Linked DNA regions of Homo sapiens: region 1 is linked to region 2. The links are contacts of gene promoters, found by promoter capture Hi-C in blood cells and fetal thymus (Javierre and others, 2016). All regions are on one chromosome and are shown on one strand. The core of a region is centred on a gene start or on the middle of the fragment in contact, and the rest is flanking DNA. Distances in the headings are between cores, read along the strand shown.

Region 1 (2,700 bases), core at 163-2,662, 390 kb after region 2:
GAAGCTAGAACAAACATCAAATTTATGGTGAATCTTGGGTGGAAGAATGGTGAAATCACTGATGCTTTACAAAAAGTTTATGGAGACAATGCCCCAAAGAAATCAGTGGTTTACAAATAAATAAATACAGAAATCAGCAGTTTACAAATGGATAATTCTTTTTAAGAAGGGATAAGACTATGTTGAAGATGAAGCCTGCAGCAGCAGCCCATGAACATCAATTTGTAAAGAAAAAAATTAATATTGTTCATGCCCTAATTAAAGAGGACTGATAATTAACAGCAGGAACAATAGCCAACACCAACACCATAAATACCTCAATTAGTTTATCTTAAAAACTTCTGACTGCAAATTTTAAATTAAGCAAATTTTCTACTTTATGGGTGCCAGAACCATTTCACCCAGGTTAGCTGCAGACAAGAGCAGAGCTTTCAATGGAAATTTTAAATAAGTGGGATCAAGATCCTAAAGCATTTCTTCGAAGAACTGTAAAAGGAGATAAAACATGGCTTTACCAGTATGATCTTGAAGTCAAAGCAGAATTAAAGCAATGGCTACCAAGAGGTGGAAGTGGCAGTCAAAGAAAACATGGGGGTTGGGCGCAGAGCCTCAATCCTGCAATCCCAGCACTTTGGGAGCCCGAGGTGGGCAGATCACCTGAGGTCAGGAGTTCGAGGCCAGCCTGGCCAATGTGGCAAAATCCTGTTTCTACTAAAAATGTAAAAATTAGCCAGGTATGGTGTTGAGCACCTGTAACCCCAGCTACTTGGGAGGTTGAGGCAGGAGAACTGCTTGAATCCGGGAGGCGGAGGTTGCAGTGAGCCAAGATTGCACCACTGCACTCCAGCCTGAGCATCAGAGCAAGACTCCAGCTCAAAAAAAAAAAAAAAAAAGAAAAAAAAGAGAAGAGAAAAGAAAAAGAAAATGTGGGCTAGTTAAGAGCAAAGATAATGGCAAAAGTGTTTTGGGATGCTCAAAGCATTTTGCTTCTTGGCTTTCTGTAAGATCAAAGAACAATAACATCTACCTATTATGAGAGTGTTTTGAGAAAGTTAGCCAAAGCTTTGGCAGAAAAATGCCTAGGAAAGCTTCATCATAGAGTCCTCCTCTGCCACAAAGCTCCTGCTTATTCCTCTCAACAAACAAGTGAAATTTTGTAAGTTTAAATGGGAAATCTTTAAGCATACGCCCTCCAGTTCTGATTTGGCTACTTCTGACTTCTTTTCCCCACCTAATTTTAAACAATCTTTAAAGGACACCCATTTTTATTCAGTTAATAATATAAAAAAGACTGCACTGACATGGTTAAATTCCCAGGACCCTCAGTTCTTTAGGGATGGACTAAACTGCTGGTATCATCACTTACAAAATTGTTTTGACCTTGATGGAATTTATGTTGGGAAATAAAATTTATATTTCTTATTTTTACTGTTTGTTGCTTCCACTTTCCATGAACTTTTTGAAGTCTTCTCATACCTTTATTTTTATGCATGTTTTCTTAGAACTTATTTATAATAACTACTTTGAAGTCTTTGTCTGCTAAGTTCAACATCTGGGCCTTCTCTAAGGCTGTTTCTGTTGCCTGCTTTTATGGGTCATATTTCCCTGTTTCTTTTAATGTCTCACAACTTTTTACTGAAAACTGGACATTTTAGATCACATATCATAGCAATTCTGAATGCTGATTCTCTGGGGCTTGTTGTTTCCTTCGTCATTTGTTTAATAGCTAAGCTTAAGTAGTTCTTCAAAGTCTATTGCAGTGTGCAGCTTCTAATGTCCCTGCTTAGATTTTTTTCCCTTATTCTTATCTTTTTTTTTTTTTTTTTCCTGACAGAGTCTCACTCTTTCTCGCCCAGGCTGGAGTGCAATGGCACGATCTTGGCTCATTGCAACTTCTGCTTCCCATGTTCAAGTGATTCTTCCAGCTCAGCCTCCCGAGTAGCTGGGATTACAGCCACTCGCCATCATGCCCAGCTAATTTTTGTGCTTTTGTAGAGATGGTGTTTCACCATGTTGGCCAGGCTGGTCTCGAACTCCTGACTTCAGGGGATCTGCCGCCCCCGCCCTGCCACTTCGCCTCCCAAAGTGCTGGGATTACAGGCATGAGCCACCAAACCTGGCCCCCTTATTTTTATCTTTTAGCCTGGCTAGATAGGGGTTTTCTCTAGGTCAGCATAAGCCATTTACTAGTCAAAGGTTATGCCTCAGTGTCCTTAGTCTGTTAGGTTTTTTTACCCTTTACTGTCGGAAATGATATGTGTGATGTGGAGGCTCTTATCACAGTTCAGGGAGCTTACTACTTTTCTCCCGTGTTCACCTAGGAACTAGCAGCCTGGTGGTTCTCTCTCTGATTGCTTCTTGGAGGATGCAGCCTTGGGTATGCACATAGTCTTCCAGACTTTCAGGGATGACTATGATTTTATTTTTAAGCTTGGCTGTCTTGGAGTCACTCCTGCGCCAGAATAACATATTGTTCAGTCAGTTGTTAATCAGAAGTTGTGCTTATGCCCTTTTTACCAATAAAATTTCCACCCTATGTTGATGGGCCTGTGGGTGACTTGAGAAATGCTATGAAATCTGCCCCACATCCTGCTCTGATTTTTCCCAAGTGAGTGCAGCCTAGCACAGCCTTTCTGATTGGACTTGACTGTATGCATAGAAGGGCTCTTCTTGGCTGTCTCTTTCCGTGGTCTCCCTATT
Region 2 (2,700 bases), core at 147-2,646:
GGTATGGGGTCACTGTCCTGTGCATTGTAGAGTTATTTACAGCTATCAAATTTTCACACATATCTGACAGATTGGATTTGAACCCCCTAACAACCCTGCAATGAGACAGGCAGAGTTTTCATTCCTGCAATGAGACAGGCAGAGTTTTCATTCCTGTTTAACAGGTGAGCAACTTCTAAATATTGCAAACGTTTGTTTTCTGTTTTAAAATATAAAAACACTATATTTGATGTAAACAAAAATGCAAGTGCCTAAAAAGGCAACCACATGTTTGACATTCACAAGATCATGAACCCTCCAATCCCACCTCTGCTATTCACTTATCTGGGCCATTTCAGGAGTGACTTCACCCTTGAGGCCTGTTGCTTTCACCTATGAAACCTGGGGTTTAACCAGGTGAGCATGAGGTATCCTCCTAACTCTAACACTATAATATCCTGGTCCTGTATTAGGAAACTTCAGTTTCACCCACATTACCTGCAGGCGACTTTTAACCTACTTGCCATGCTGCGACTATTACACAAAGCAACTGATGACAAGCCTTGGATGACAGGCCTCAGGGGCAATGCCTTCCACCTGGATGGCTACCTGATTCCAAAGACTTCAACAACCAATCCCATTCCTCCTACATCTTTACTCCTGCCTGAAGATTCGGACTCAACTTATTAAGAGCAACTTGGAAGGAAGGGGCAACAACCAAAAGAAACGAGTCACTAAAACAGTAGGGCCCTTCTCGGCAACCCCTGACACCACCCTGCACATCCAGTCCTTGAAAAGTTCTGTTTCTTTTCCTCCTATATCCAAGCCCTAAGATACCGCCCCTCCCCCACCCCAGCCCCCATATGCCACTGACACGCATTGGAGAGTGAGGATCAACGTCCCTTGCAGACGTGTGCACGGGCCTAGGAACCAGCTGACCCACGTTTCAACTGTCATTAACTTCTAACTACATGCCCCGTCGGGCCTGACCTGAGGCTGAACTCCTGTGACCTTCCAACTCCCCTGGATCTGCACGGCAGTCACTTGGAGGCACCGCCCCTGCGCTAGCTCCAGAGCTTGAGACAGGGTCCGGGCGGAGCTCCTTCCTGAGCCGGAGAAGACGCGCCCCTGTCCCTTCCGCGACTGCCGCCCCGCACTCCCTGCGGGGAGGTCGACCCCGGCGCATTCTAGGCCCCGCGGTCCTCCAGCGGGTTGGCCGCTACCTTGTCCAGCAGCCGGTAGATGCTGATGCCCGAGGTCTCCACTAGGAGCTGCCAGTCGGCCCCGGCCAGAGCGGGCTGCTGGAGCTCGGCGCAGGCCTCCCAGAACTGCTCCTCCGAGAAGCTTCCGGCGGCCAGCTCCATCCTTCCGCAGTCCGGGCTCCTCCGCCTGGAGGGCAGGCCGCGGACACCCTTAGTGTGGGCCTGGGGGCGGGGTGACCGGGCTGCCCCGGCTGCCCCGGCTGCCCCAGCGTCATTGGCAGGAAACTGAGGAGAAGGCGGGGCCTAGACTGGAGGAGCGGCCTGAGGGTGGGGCCCTGGAGGGGCGGGCCTAGAAAAGCGGGCGGGGCTGAGCAAGGAGTGAGGAGGATAGACAAGAAGTAAAAGGAGAAAAATTGGACTTGATGTGGGGAAGGAAGGAAGAGCTGGAGAAGTAAGGAGGCTTCCAGAGGGAAGGGAAAAAGGAAGGGAGACAGTGATGTCACCTCAAAAACAGCTCCTCAGTAGCCTATCCCATACTCCCTGCTACTCCCATAACCTACAGACCTGTTTGAGTGTCTCTCATTTACCTTTCTGAATAAAGTAGAGAAAGTCTCTTTGGTAGACATGAGAGGAGAGGTGGGCAGAGTAGAAATGCTGGAAAAATCCTAAGGGGTCAAATGCCAGAAGTGTATTTCAATATAATTTCTCTTCTTTCTGCTATACATTGTAAAACATTATTCTGAGACGAGGTCCATTGGATTCCCCAGAAGACTCTAGGGGTTCATAACACCAAAACAGTTTAGAAACCTAATCCATAATGGATCTACAAGGTTGTTGCCACCCTTGAGGGTAGAAACTGATCTGAAAGGTGTCGTACTATCCACCTAGGATTTCTGCAACTTGCATAATTTAGCTCACTGTGCAACTCAAACATCTTCTTGTTCCTTTGAAGTCCCTTGAGTAATACTGTATTTCCCACCAGCAGACTGTACTACCTGACTTTGAATAAAGTAGGTCGTTTGAACATCAAAACGATGTAACAGCCACGTGAGTGCCAATAAACTCTGGAAACTCATGTTTCCTAATCTGTAAAATGGGTCAAGAATTGTGCTACCAGTTACAGCTGAGGAGGTGGTTGGACAAGGAATAATTTTCCACAGTGCCCGTCCAAGTAAATGTTCAATAACAATTTCCACTTGTTTTGCATTACTATATTGAAATGCTTTTCTTTCCTTACTTGAAAGAAAGTTGATGGCAAAGTCTTAATTTATGTGATTTTCCAATCAGGCAAATGATCACATTTGGCAGCTTGCTTAGTTAGACACAGCAGAGATAAATAATTGCTTTCCTCAAGTCAGTCCTGGTTCTGTTTGGCTTTATAGGTGTGGAAAGAGGGATGTGAAATTTTCCTAGACTAAATGCACAAAAGTTTAGGCTAGACATACTTTCCCACTGTTTTATAACTCCTTGTAAATTTTCTATGTATTGTAAATCCATATTTTATTTAAATGGAAATTCA

What was found. Contacts are between HindIII fragments. The CHiCAGO score rates a contact against its expected background, and 5 or more counts as called.
Region 1: a fragment that was not itself captured here is called in contact with the fragment with the promoter of PCTP in region 2 in 1 of 17 cell types (total B cells); the score reaches 5.8 in total B cells.

The regions. Positions count from the first base shown.
Region 1 is chr17:55,358,057-55,360,756 of GRCh38, reverse strand. No RefSeq gene overlaps it. Among named protein-coding and RNA genes, the nearest start is that of MMD, 62 kb to the left of the region's middle. The HindIII fragment of the contact is 643 bases long and covers 1,091-1,733 here.
Region 2 is chr17:55,749,747-55,752,446 of GRCh38, reverse strand. PCTP (phosphatidylcholine transfer protein) reads right to left here and starts at 1,396. Exons shown (of 6, transcript NM_021213.4): 1 at 1,203-1,396. The coding sequence starts at 1,343. RefSeq lists a silencer at 1,259-1,598. The HindIII fragment of the contact is 1,470 bases long and covers 1,326-2,700 here.